Linked DNA regions of Homo sapiens: all the other regions are linked to region 5. Evidence: promoter capture Hi-C in 16 types of primary human blood cells and fetal thymus (Javierre and others, 2016). All regions are on one chromosome and are shown on one strand. Each heading gives the region's core, a stretch centred on a gene start or on the middle of the fragment in contact. The rest is flanking DNA. Distances are from core to core; before and after follow the strand shown. Region 1 has its middle 37 kb from the start of AKR1C1. Region 2 has its middle 51 kb from the start of AKR1E2. Region 3 overlaps AKR1E2 (aldo-keto reductase family 1 member E2). Region 4 has its middle 54 kb from the start of AKR1C1. Region 5 holds the start of CALML5 (calmodulin like 5).

Region 1 (2,700 bases), core at 54-2,553, 570 kb after region 5:
GATCTGTGAGATTTGTACTAATGTGCCCTTTTATGATGATGTGTATTGTCCCCTAATTTCCATGTTTAGAATTTCTTTCAGCATTTCTTCTAGGATTGAGCTAATGGTAATGAATTCCCTTAGTAATTGTTTGTCTGGAAAAGAATATTCCTGTATCATTTTGGAAGTTTAGCTTAGCAGCATATAAAATACTTGGCTGCCTTTTGTTCTTTAAGGAGGATGAATATAGGCCTGAAGTATATTCTGGCCCGTAGGGTTTCTGCTGAGAATTCAATTTTAGTCTGATGGGATTTCCTTTACAGGTGATTAAGTGTTTCTCTCTTGCAACTCTTAGAATTTTTTTCTTTATGTTGACTTCAAATAGTCTGATGACTATATGCTGTGGTGAGGTTCATCTTGAAATGTATTTTCCAAGAATTCTGTGATCTTCTTGCATCTGAATGTCTAAATGTTTCCCAATACCAGGGAAGGTTTTCTGAAGTATATCCTCCGAAGCGTTTTCCATACTTTTTAGTTCTTTTTCTTCTCACTCTGGAATACTTACATTTCTGAGGGATGGTCACTTCATAAAATTCCCTATTTCTCAAAGACTTTGTGGATTTTTTAAAATTAATTTTTCTATATTAATGTCTGATTGAGTTAATTTCAAAGACTTGTCTTCCAGCTCTAAAATTCTTTCTTCCTCTTGGTCTAGCCTATTGTTAAAGCTTTCAACTGTATTTCACAATTCCTTCAATGAATTTTTTTATTTCCAGAAGTTCTGATTCTTTTTTAAATGATGTCAATATATTCTTCCATATTCTGAATTGTTTTTTTCTGATTTCTATGTGTTAGTTTTCAGCTTTCTGTTTGGTCTCATTGAGTTTCTATAACTCAATATTTTGAATTATTTATCTGGTATTTCAAAATTTCATTTAAGTTAGGATCTATTGCTGGAGAGTTAATGTGTGATCCTTTGAGGGTGTTAAACAGTCTGTTTTTTCATACTTTCAGAGTTGTTTCCTGTTTTTTTCTCAATTGCATAAACTATTTTACCCTGTTATGTTTTGCATTTGCTTTTTTTGGATGTCGAGCTTATCAGGGAGTTTATCTTATTCCCTAGTGCAGTGGGCTTGCATCAGCAGATGTCTTTTTGTGTTGAGTGATTCAAGTTCCAGGCCAGTAGATGGTTCTATGGGAAAGAACTGGCTATGGCTGATACAGATGTGTATATATTGGATCCCTGTTAACTGAGAGAAGCTATCTGTGTAATAAGACATTGATCTGACCTGTGGAAGGCACAGCCATCTAATCTTCCTGCTTAGCCAAGTAGAAGGCCCGCTTACAGGTTACACAATGGCAGACACAAGCACCAGCAGGAGGAAGAAGTTTCGGCGGGCAGATATCAAGTTCCTAGAGGTATGCCGAAGCATGAAGCTGGGAAACCTCTGCTCTTCACCCAGTTTAACAGAGGTTATTTGGGTTGTTGTTGTTGTTGAGTTTCTTAGAATTTTTTTTTTCTTTTTGAGACAGAGTCTTGCTCTGTCGCCCAGGCTGGAGTGCAGTGGCACAATCTCAGCTCACTGCAGCCTGCACCTCCCAGGTACAAGCAATTCTCGTGCCTCAGCCTGCCAAGTACCTGGGATTATAGCCATGAGCCACCCCCCTGGCTAATTTTTGTATTTTTAGTAGTGATGGGATCTCGCCATGTTGACCAGGTTGGTCTTGAACTCCTGACCTCAGGTGATCCACAAACATCAGCCTCCCAAAGTGCTGGGATTACAGACATGAGCCACCACGCCTGGCCATAAATTTTTGATATGAGTTTTCTATTGGATTTACAGTTTGTAAATATTTTCTTCCATTTTGTAGGTTGTCTGTTCACCCTTTTGATTATTTCTTTTGATTTACAGAAGCTTATTTGTTTTATTAAGCCATATATGTCTGTTTTTATTCTCTTGTTTGTGTTCTTGAGGTCATACTCTTGAATTATTTCCCTAAATTTAGTTATTACTTTTTCCCCAAAGAATTTAGAATTTTCCTTACATTTTCTGATAGCAGTTTATAGTTTCAGTTCTTACATTTAAAACTTTAATTTATTTTGAGTTGTTTTAAAACTTTGCAAAGCAATTTGGAAATATAGGCAATATTGGAAATGTCTAACTTTTGTGAAAAACATCAATTTCATATTATGGTTTTAGGGGTCAGGATTGTAATCTCATCAACATGTGATTTACTGCAAAAGGTCTGTTTAGGTCACTCATGTTAATTTCCTTGCCCTTGGCATGTGGTTGCAGTGGGAAGAGAGCTGCTGTGACCCAGTCCTAGCCAATGCCACATAAGAGGGACTATGCTAGGGGCTTCTAGGAAGGATTCCTCACTTCTAGGAAGAAATTTTTAAAATAAGGTGGCCTTTCTTCTGCAAGTAGCTATTGTCCTGCTGCAGTGTGAGTTCAAAAATTGCTTCAGCAGCCTCCACCCACCCTGAAGATAACATCAATACACAGAAGAAGAAGAGCTGGAGAAGATGAGAGTGTCTGTGTGTGTGCCTGTGTGTGTATGTGTGTGCACCTGTGTGTGTGTGCACCTGTGTGTATGTGTGCCTGTGTGTGTGTGTGCCTGTGTGTATATGTGTTTGTGTGCACCTGTGTGTGTGTGCACCTGTGTGTATGTGTGCCTGTGTGTGTGTGTGCCTGTGTGTATATGTGTTTGTGTGCTAGT
Region 2 (2,700 bases), core at 102-2,601, 620 kb after region 5:
GTTTCAAATTGGAGTGATGACTTCTTTGGAGAAATGCTTATGCAAGTTTTTTTTCCCCCATTTTTCAACTGGGTTATTTGTTTGTTTTTTTGCTATTGCATTGTAGATTTTTACATAGTTTAGATATTAACCCCTTATACCTGTTATTAACAGTATGCATACTTTAAAATATGTTTAAGATAGTTGATCTCATGTCAAGTGTTCTTGCAAAAAAAAAAAAATCCAAAAACTAAAACCAAAACCACACACAAAAGGACATAAGAAAATGTTTGGAGGTGATGGGCATGTTTAATGCATCGTTTGCAGTGATGGTATCACAGGTATATGCACATGCCCAAATCCATCCAGATGTATCCATTAAGTGTGTGCATGTTTTCATATAACAATTATACATTCATAAAGCCAAAAAATGTTGAGGGATGATTTATTGGCTATCAGGGGTTGCAGCAATGAACAAAATGGGAATACTCCTTAAAAATAAAGAATACTGAGATTAAATAACTAAGAAAGGCAGAAATTGCTGCTTGCTATACGTCAACAATAAATGAGCAAGAACCAAAGATGTCACCATGGTTTTCAGTCTGGAAGACTGAAATTCTCTTTTGGCCTTGTGCACAACCTGCCATCTAAGAGCACTGAGTTAATTATTTAATCAATACTGCTATGCCCTCCATGGGCTGTCATCCCAAGTAAAGCCCTTGGGAGCTTCATGCATACAGCTGTGGATGACAATCATGGCTTGGCCTGTGTTGCTGGTATTCTAAAAGATGTCTGATACCATGCAATGCAGCACTGCATGTCCCTGGTAAGCTTGGTGTTGGTGGTTCTGTAACCTAATTCTCCTGCTTGGCATTCTGCAGGTGGAATATCACCCTTACCTCAACCAAAGCAAACTCCTGGAGTACTGTAAGTCCAAGGACATTGTCATGACTGCATATTCTGCCTTGGGGTCTGACTCAGACAAAGACTGGTAATCATCTTCATAAAGTTATTTTGTTTATTTTTTTTAGGTGGGGGTCTCATTCTGTCATCCAGGCTGGAGTGCAGGGGCACAATCACAGCTTGTTGCAGGCTTGACCTTCCAGGCTCAAGTCAGGATCTTCCCTCCTAGACCTCCTAAGTAGCTGGGACTACAGGAGTGCACCACCATGCCTGGCTAATTGTTTATTTTCATTTTTGTAGAGACAGGGTCTCACTACGTTACCCAAGCCAGTCTTGAATTCCTGGGCTCAAGTGATCCTCCCACCTTGGCCTCCCAAAGTGCTGGGATTAGAGGTGTAAGCCACGGTGACTGGCCTATAAAGTTATTTTAATCATAGATACTGTACCTTCCGAAGTAATCTCTCAATCAGCTGGCAAAATTAAAAATAGACAGCAGGAATAAATTCATCTGTAAACCTTTTACCTAACCCAGACCTACATTATAAGAACTAAATAGAACTGCCACCTTCCATTCCTTTGTCCTTCTTTGGTTATAACAAAAGATGCAAAACAGATATTGAGACAGCCAGAAGGTAATGAGGAAGGTTCTGGAGGATTAGCATCCCTGGCCAAAATAAGCAGCCCGCAAGTAAAATGGATATTCAGCCTCAGACTTGCAGCACCTCTGCCTCTCCTCTCAGGGTGAAAAAAGGAAACCCAGTTCTCCAGGAGGATCCAATACTCAATGCCATTGCTGAAAAGCCCAGGCGAACTCCAGCCCAGGTTGCCTTGTGCTACCAGCTGCAGCGCGGGGTGGTGGTCCTGGTGAAGAGCTTCAATGAGAAGAGAATCAAAGAAAACTTCCAGGTACAGGGCATGGTGGTGGCAGCAGGGGATTGACAGAGGCACATCATTTCCCCACGGTATCTGAGTTTTTGCAAAGCTCTCAAGGTATATTTGGGCAAAGCTTATCTCCTTTTACATTCTATGCATATAAGCATATAAGCACCATATTTAATTGCTTTGTCTCCCCTTGCTGCAAGGGAGAGTGTGATGGTTGGAAAGGACACTAAAGAGAAGGTCAGGAGAGGGTCCTAATCCGGGTTTTTCCCCTATAGTATGGCGCTGGGTAAGTCATCCCTTGATTTCTATAGCTGTAAAATAAAGGAATTAGATCACGTGAGGTTTGGGCTTAAAATTCTCTAGGATTTCTTTGCTATCATGATGGCTCCCCAATAAAAGTATCTGAGGGAAGATTAACCATGCCAATCTCAACTTTATAAATGGACAAATTCCCATGACATGCCACTGAATGAATCCTTGGTCCATGAAAACTCACTCATAAAACCTACACAAAGTCCTACATGGATTTGTCTGTTTGTGGAGAGGGGAGAAGAGGAACAGCAATTGCCTCAAGGATATTAAATTGATCTTCTCACGTTTCTGACAGGTTTTTGACTTCTAGCTGACACCAGAGGACATGAAAACCACAGATGGCTTGAACAAGAATATATGCCATTTGTAAATGTCTATGTAAGTAGCTTGTTTCGTTGTTGACACTAGGGAGCAGGACAGTGGGGGAATTCCATTGATTTCAGCCCACAGAAGGCAGGGTTTGTTGCTTAGGAAAGTTGTTGGAAAACATTTTTTCTTCAGACTTCATATCAGACATTTTTTTTTCTCCAAGGCTCATAGCTCTGCCCAGACAAGAGTGTGAGCAGAACTCAATAGAGACGGAAGCTCCCCGTTTAAGACTGGGCTCTCCTGGCTCCACACTGC
Region 3 (2,700 bases), core at 39-2,538, 670 kb after region 5:
ATCTCCCCTTTCACCCAAGCATGTGGACAACATAATACATAAAAAATTAAGTCACTAATTTGGTACTAGTATAATCAGTCTAAAAACAGGCAATATCAGTTATGAAGGAATTTATGAATAATCTAAGTTCCAACTCCTTTACATATTTTGGGAAAAAAAAACTATAGGTTATTTTTAGTGTCTGCAGAAAACTGAGCTAGATGGTATGCTTCCTGAATGATCAAAGCAATAAAAAAGTACAGAATGAATAATAACTGAGATGCAAAGAGGCTTAAGATTTATCCTGTATACTCAGATACCACAGCGTCCAATAATAAAGGCTGAGGTGTAGACTCACACGAAGGTATCCATACAAAAAGAAGTATATAACAAAACCTAAATGAATGTATAATGCTACAAGCAATAAGGTAGTTCAGAAAAGAGAACAGTCACTCTAAATGAAGCTCAGGCAAGGGAAGGGACTAGAACTAGGGAAGACTATGGGGGTGGGCGGGTTTGCAGTCTCATTAAACTGAAGACTGACAAGGGCTTTATAGTTCACAAACCACTTTCTCACTGGAGCTTCACGGTAACCCTAGGAGTTAGAGCAGCATAATTATCTTCATTTTATAGGCAACAGATTCAGAGTGGTTGAAAGCTAATGAACCAAGTATCCATCTTAAGTTAGAAAAAGAACCCAAGAAATTGGATGGAAAGATAAAAATATGATTAAGAATAACATCAATAAAATAGAAAACAAAGATGTAACAGAGAAGATCAACAAAACCAGAAGTCAGTTCTTTGAAAAACTTCAGTAAAATAAACAGACTTCTGGCTAGGTTGATGAAGAGGCCAACTTTTTAAAAAACTGACACGAATGGACAGTAAAACATGCAGATAAAATGGACTTAAAAGAAAATATTACCAATAACTATATGTCAATAACTTGGAAAAATGAGATAAAATGGGAAAATTCCTAGAAAAATTTAACCCAAGAATAAAGCTTGAATAGTTACATAATTATTAAAGAATGCAAGGAATTCAAAAAAAAGAGAAAACCACCAGTTTCATAAAATTTTCAAGAAAAAAATCATCTCAGTTTAACACAGACTTTCAAACAACAGAAAAAGACGGACTTATCTCAACTCATTCTACAAAACTAGCATAACCCTGAATCAAAATCAGACAAAAATATTAAAAGTCACACATTCATCTTATTCATGAATACCGTTGCAAAATTCATAAGTAAAATAAAAGCAAATTGGATGCAACAATATTTATGAAAAGATAATATACCACACCCATGTTGAGTGTATCTCAGATATCTAAGGATGGTTTGATATTAGAAAATCTGTAATTCATCAATATTAACAGATTAAAGTACAAAAACAAAAGTCAACTCAATCAATATTTGTTAAGATTCAATACCAGTTTAGATTCAAAATCTAAACTCCCAGTAAGTCGGGGAAAAGAATTAATCTGATAAAGAGTATCAATATTAAAAAATATCCATCTTACATCCTTTAAAATCAGGTACAAAACAAGAATGGCCACTGTGCTGGAGGTGCTTTCCAGAAGCACCTGAACAACTAAGAAGAAGCAATTTTAAGCTTAAAGAGTGGAAAAAAAGGAAAGTAAACTACCATTATTTGCTGATGATATGATCATTTGTGTAGAAAATCCAAACAAATGTAACACAAATTAACAGAAATAACAGTACAGTTTAGTAAAGTGGCTGGAAGTGTAATGAATATAGCAGGTGAAACAAGTAGAAAATGTAACTTCAGAGAAATATAATTTCCAGTAGTATAACACACTATCAAGAACCCAATAATAATTCCAACAAAAGACATATATTCTCTTCAGGAAAAACTATACAACCATATGAAAAGATGTTAGAAATGAACCATATTCAGGACAATTTATTAACAGAGAAGAATACCATGCTTGTAGAAAAGTTAAGATTTAACATTACAAAGGTGTCAATTATCTCCAAGCTGGTCTACAGATTTAATGTAGTTCCAATCAAAACCCCAATAAAGTTTCTCATGGAACCTTCTAAGCTAGTTCTAAAACTTACAGTGGAGAGTAAGGTGCCAAAATAAAAAGCCAGGACCCAGGTACATGCATCTGTCAAAACTCATCAAATTGTACACTGTAAATCTACAACAGCAGGGAGAGGTGACCTGCCCTACTAGGTATGGGCGCTTATCAAGGAACTGTAGTAATTAAGACAGCACCGATCAGGCACACAGATGGATCAAGTGGCCCCTAATAATGAAGAGCCCAGGCTGAGGTCTCCAGACATCTCACCGCTCCCCTTGCTCTCTTGTGCTTCAGCCATCATCTTGAGAACACTCCCTAACTAACCGCACGAGGACAGGAGATGTGCGGAGCCAAGTGGAGTAGCCCCAACCATCCCAACTGAGCCCAGCCAAGGTCCACAGAGCTGCTCTCCTGACCTCCCGTGTGGGAGGAATACACTTGCTGCTGTACACCACTGAGGTCTGGTGTTTGGCCATTGATGCAGCATTTCTGGGGCAACAGATAACGGATAGGTCTGTGATGTTTATTCACTATTAAAAATAGACGAGTAAAAATAAGCCTTTGCATAGACCAGTGATGAGTGATTATGATTAATCCAATTTGATGCACCTGCAGTCCAAGAAAAATAAATAGAATATTTTGACCTGTTAAGCACAGTTTTCACTAATTTTTCCT
Region 4 (2,700 bases), core at 10-2,509, 590 kb after region 5:
GAGAAAAAAACCTTTTTCCAGGAAAGCAAGAGCCAAGAAGAAAAAACATAAAGGCCTTTTAAATATACCTGTAACTTGGACATTCACTTTTAATTAAGCTGAGCGCTCTTTAAGAAAACCCTTTATATCCCTGTTACCCCACTTTAGCTGTGCCAAGAGGCCAATATTTCTGGCTTTCAAACTTTACTAAAGGCTCAGGAAAAGGAAAATCCAAGGCAGTTTGTAGAATGGAAGACAATCAACAAATGGCAAAAGTCACACAGATATCAAACCAGAAAAGACTCATTCCCTAAGCCAGGATTGAACGTAGGCTGCCATTGCAAAATGGCAGAAGCTAAAATAAAGCACTACCATGTGGTTACAGGTCACAATTCCAAGGATGTAAAACAATATGGAGGCCTGCAGCAAAGTTTGCTGTTGACCATACAGAAAGACATGCAGAGCACACCAGATTGGCTGCAGCTTAAGACCAACCTTACAAATCCTTTTTTATAATTCAAACTTTACAGAGAATATAAACAGTGACAGCTGGGGCCCTGGCCTAGTAAAACGTTTTCTAAAAGGGGGAAAAAAGGTCTCACTTAAAAGTTAACTCCTGACCTGGTGGAGAAAAGAAAAAAAGCTTAAAGTGCAGGGGTGGGAAGATGTTTTTTAATTATGCAAATGGTTCCTACAACAGAGAGAGAAATTTAATTACTGTCTGATGGAGCTGGACCCCTTGGCCAGGGGTGGGGAAGACTCCGTAGATGCATTGCAGGGAACACTGGCCAGCTTGCCACATGGGGCCTGGGTCCCTGAGGCCACTTTGGGGCCCAGGCAGTGGCTGTGGCTCATTTCTGCCCAGCATGGCCGTTAGACACCACACGCACCTGTGGCAGTTATGGCCATGCATCCCAGTCAGGAGCGAAGGGGGGCAGGGAGCACCTGTGGCCATTGAGGTAGGGTGGTACACAGTTTCCTCTATCCTCATAAGAAGTCCGAGTACAAAAAGGCTTAGAAACAAAAGGGAAAATGATTTTTTTGGTTCACATCTTACTCACCCTTCCTCATGTCCCTGTACACGCCACCAAAATGATGCAGAATTTTTGCTTCTTAGTTCAGCTAAATCCCGGTTCTTGTGTCATGACCAGGATAAATGAGGCATGTGGACACATTGAAGGGTGAAGAGAGCAGAATGTATGGGCAAATAGGAAAAAGGAGAAAAAAAAAGCTGTCAGCAAATTGAGAGGGACTCCTGCTAACATGCTACCACCTCACAGATTGAGTACCAGGCCAACACACAGGACCAGAAGAGGCCAGGCTCCTCCTGCTGCACAGGCCATGAACTTCCTGTGGCTCCACCTTATTCTCCCAGTGCACAGGCGGGTCCCCAGTCCATTGTGGGCATGTGCAGACAACACCCTGGGCAGGTTCCCTCATCTGCACGAAAGCATCTGATGTAAACACTTGCGGAGTAGGTCGGAGATTCTCTGGGGACTCCCTCGACCCCCACCTTATCTGCGTCCTGCATCTATCAATACCACATAAGCCTCTGGGAAACTCCACTGTACGTTCACAAAAGAATGAGAGTAAAAAAGAAATAGGTTCTTAGTATTATCATAAGAATAATTTTTACATCATGCCCCCAGAAGGATTCTAGGGACCCCATAGGTTCTGGTACCAAACTTTGAAAACCACTACTTTAAAGTTTAGATAAAACCAACTCCCTATAGTCCTTTGTCACTACAGAACCTGCCTCTTTAATATTTGAAATTAGACAGATGCACTACAGTAAATATAAGTAGTCCCAGAAGAGAAAAGTGGTAGGGAAAAGCAACACAATACCCAGTTTGAATTACTATAGGGAAAAGAAAGTCTGCACTCTTGGTATAGGTAAGTGTTCATGAAGGAAGCTTGGTTTTGACACAGTAGGAGGTTGAGATTGAAGGAGTCGCTGTGGGTAATATTGGATCTTGAGTGAATTAATTCTTCAGTCACAGTTGTGTCTAGAGAAGTAGCTCTTTAATAAGGTAGGCATATTTAAAGCCCCTAATGACAGAACAGGTGATATTTCTCATATAGAATCAATACATATAATTATCTTGCTCTCTGAACACGTTTTCTTGCTATAGGAAAACTAGAAAGATGAGCTGAAAGATAGGGAACAGAATGCTGAAAGGGAAGGGAAGGTTGATATTGGAGGCAATTTTGAAAAACTTCAAAAAGACACCAAGCATTAGATCTTACCTTGTCAGAGAATCACTTAACACAGCCTTTTGACAGTTGGTTAGAGTAGGTTCAAAACACGTTTTTGTGCCTGGAGAGAAATAATATCTACAATTAATTTTGCTTAGTTTTACACCAAGTTGATTGACTGTATCCTACCAATTAAAACACAGAAAGTAGTTTTTTCTGAATATTTACACATTGATTAAAATTTTGAAAAATCAAGTTTTCTTAAACAGTTTGTGGTGAAATTAAGAATTTTATATACCTGTAATTGCCCAGTGGGTTAACCTTGCCCACTCCCTAGACAGAGTCTATTTATCAAGACGGGAGAATTGCAATGGAGAAAGAGTAATTCCCGCAGAGCCCACTGTGTGGGGGACTGGAGTTTTATTGTTTATTATTAGATCAGAGTTTGTCAAGATAATCTAGCAGGTAGAGGCTGGGGAAGTGGGGAGTGCTGCTGATTGGTCAGGTTGGAGATGGAATCATAGG
Region 5 (2,700 bases), core at 170-2,669:
CATGGAGTGCGTGGTTGGGCACCCCAGCCTCCGGCTTCCCTTGGAGAATGTGTGCAGCACCAAGGGGCTGGGAGGTGTTTGTCTGGCTGCACTTTAGGGAAGGAGAGGGCACTTGGTCTATTTGATGGGCTGAACAGGAGGGAGGTGGAATGTATAAACTTTCCCAGGGGAATAAAGGAGTTTGTTCCCTGTGTACGGGCAGGGGCTGGGGAGAAGAATGGGAATCTATGGAGATCAGAGGGGACTTGCTTGGGAAAGGCATTTTGGGGACTCCAAGGCAAATGTCCCCTCACAACTGTAGATCACATCAGTGGAAGGACTTGGGGATGGTCCCCCGAAAGCTTAGCTGTTGCTCTAAAAGTTGGTCAAGGCAAGTGGCCCTGGGGGTTTCCTTCCAGAGAACAGATCAGATTGAGGACCCCAGTAGGCTCCCAGATGGGTCTCTGTGCTTAGGGCTGATGCTTAGTAAAACCACAAGGAGGGCCAAGTTTGATGGCAGCCACCTGTTCTGCATCCTCCTGCACCTCTGCCTGCACCTTTGGGGTATGCTGGGCACTGAGGTCCCCCGTGTCTCGCTGCAGCAAAACTCCAGCTGTAACTGTTTGACGCCCTGTGAATGGAACGCCTGCCACTGAGCTCCCAGGGTGTCTGCACAGGGAACCTTGGACTTGGCGATGGAATTGAATTGTAGGAATCCCTGAGCTAGAAGGGAGTATTCTGGGGAGACAAAAAGTCTTTCCCTCTCCTCTGAAACTGCACGTCACATGTTCACTTGATAAACACCATCTCAGCACCAGCTATGGCTCTGAAGGCAGCCCTGGTCCCTTGCTTCCTTGAAGTTATAGGCAGTGAGCCCCATCCTCTGTCTCTAGACCCTGGCCTGGGAATCTCATGATACCCACAGTTGTGCCCTGGCAGAATCAACACTACCACCCACTTCCCTTCCACCAGCCCCAGCCTCAGGGCAAGAGCTAGGCAGTAGCACTGGAGAGAGGGGTACGGAAACACCAAACACTGGGGCCTGCTGTGCCCTTGAGGGAGCCCTCTTCAAGCCACCTCCCCCTCCAGTCTCAGTCTTTGTGAAGTTGCAGAAGCTGTCTTGAACCCCTTGGCTTGGTCAGGATCTCCGAGAATCAGCTGCAGGGGAAACTATCCCTTGGGCAGAATGTTCCTGGAGGGAGGTGGTTGCTATCAAGGCCAGGCGGGGTTGGCAGGCTAGCCATCCGATACCCCGACCCCATGGCAGTTCCCACCTGGCACCTGACAGCTCTCCCAACTCCCATTCCTGCATTTCCTGTCTGCAGCTGATCTGGCCCTCCCTGGGAGGAGGCTCTCACCCCAGGGCATTTGGAGGGTGGGGAGCCTCCCTCCTCCCTTTGTTCCGATTGCAGAAAAGGAGGGGGTTCCCATGCCAAGGCAGAACTGTCTGGGACAGACGCTGCCCGGATCCCTGCGGCTGCCTGCACTCTGGACCACGAGCTCTGAGAGCAGCAGGTTGAGGGCCGGTGGGCAGCAGCTCGGAGGCTCCGCGAGGTGCAGGAGACGCAGGCATGGCCGGTGAGCTGACTCCTGAGGAGGAGGCCCAGTACAAAAAGGCTTTCTCCGCGGTTGACACGGATGGAAACGGCACCATCAATGCCCAGGAGCTGGGCGCGGCGCTGAAGGCCACGGGCAAGAACCTCTCGGAGGCCCAGCTAAGGAAACTCATCTCCGAGGTTGACAGCGACGGCGACGGCGAAATCAGCTTCCAGGAGTTCCTGACGGCGGCGAAGAAGGCCAGGGCCGGCCTGGAGGACCTGCAGGTCGCCTTCCGCGCCTTCGACCAGGATGGCGACGGCCACATCACCGTGGACGAGCTCAGGCGGGCCATGGCGGGGCTGGGGCAGCCGCTGCCGCAGGAGGAGCTGGACGCCATGATCCGCGAGGCCGACGTGGACCAGGACGGGCGGGTGAACTACGAGGAGTTCGCGAGGATGCTCGCCCAGGAGTGAGGCTCCCCGCCTGTGTCCCCCTGGCTGCGCTCTGAGCCTTCAGGGCCACCGCCCGCTGCTGCTTTTGTGCTGGGACTCTCCGGGGAAACCTGGTCGGTGGATGGGAAACTGCCTCCCCCTGGGAGGAAGGCTTTGCGCTCCGGGGCCTGGATGCGGCGCCCTCGGGCCGCCTGCGAGCCCCTCTCTGCCTCCAGACCTTGGGCAGAAGGAGGCCTCCTTGGGCCTGGTCCCCCTTTGCCCTGCAGTGGAATGAGGGCCCCTCAGCCCCGCATTGATCTAAATAAAGGACTGCCGAGTTCCATGTGTGCTTGGTGTTTGTGGGGCGGCTGCCTCCGAGGGCCCCCACCTGCTTCCAGGGTTCCTTCCAGCCCACCCCTCTCACCTGCGGTGGCAGAACTGCCTGGAGCAGGCCCCAGGGGCAGCTCCTGCCTCCCCTGACGCGGAGCAGAGGGCAGGTGGGCAGAGGATGTGTGAGGATGGTGCTGGGCGGTGTCTGTGGCTCCAGGTTCTGCCTGAGCTGCTGGTGAGGACCTGGGCACGTGTCCCGCACAAACAGGAGCGGGCGCCTCGCATGGACAGACGGAGCCCAGCTGCCAGCCTCTGCACGCAGCCTGCCTCTCTTCGGCTGCAAATAATATACGTGTACGTCTGTGTGTGCATCTGTGTGTGTGTCTGTGTGTCTGTATGCGTGTCTCTGTATGTGTGCATC

The links. The method cuts DNA at HindIII sites, captures the fragments that hold promoters and counts their contacts. A CHiCAGO score of 5 or more calls a contact.
Region 1: a contact is called between a fragment that was not itself captured here and the fragment with the promoter of CALML5 in region 5, in 1 of 17 cell types (M1 macrophages). The highest score is 6.2, in M1 macrophages.
Region 2: a contact is called between a fragment that was not itself captured here and the fragment with the promoter of CALML5 in region 5, in 2 of 17 cell types (M0 macrophages and M2 macrophages). The highest score is 6.0, in M0 macrophages.
Region 3: a fragment that was not itself captured here is called in contact with the fragment with the promoter of CALML5 in region 5 in 1 of 17 cell types (M1 macrophages); the score reaches 5.2 in M1 macrophages.
Region 4: a fragment that was not itself captured here is called in contact with the fragment with the promoter of CALML5 in region 5 in 1 of 17 cell types (M2 macrophages); the score reaches 5.6 in M2 macrophages.

Annotation. Positions count from the first base shown.
Region 1 is chr10:4,924,627-4,927,326 of GRCh38, reverse strand. No RefSeq gene overlaps it. Among named protein-coding and RNA genes, the nearest start is that of AKR1C1, 37 kb to the left of the region's middle. The HindIII fragment of the contact is 1,188 bases long and covers 710-1,897 here.
Region 2 is chr10:4,875,725-4,878,424 of GRCh38, reverse strand. It overlaps the pseudogene AKR1C6P. Among named protein-coding and RNA genes, the nearest start is that of AKR1E2, 51 kb to the right of the region's middle. The HindIII fragment of the contact is 1,078 bases long and covers 813-1,890 here.
Region 3 is chr10:4,827,921-4,830,620 of GRCh38, reverse strand. All of the region lies in intron 1 of AKR1E2 (aldo-keto reductase family 1 member E2), which reads right to left. Among named protein-coding and RNA genes, the nearest start is that of AKR1E2, 3.1 kb to the right of the region's middle. The HindIII fragment of the contact is 607 bases long and covers 985-1,591 here.
Region 4 is chr10:4,907,947-4,910,646 of GRCh38, reverse strand. It overlaps the pseudogene AKR1C6P. Among named protein-coding and RNA genes, the nearest start is that of AKR1C1, 54 kb to the left of the region's middle. The HindIII fragment of the contact is 1,270 bases long and covers 625-1,894 here.
Region 5 is chr10:5,498,289-5,500,988 of GRCh38, reverse strand. It overlaps CALML5 (calmodulin like 5), which reads left to right and starts at 1,419. Exons shown (of 1, transcript NM_017422.5): 1 at 1,419-2,292. The coding sequence starts at 1,551. The coding sequence ends at 1,991. The HindIII fragment of the contact is 4,911 bases long and covers 344-2,700 here.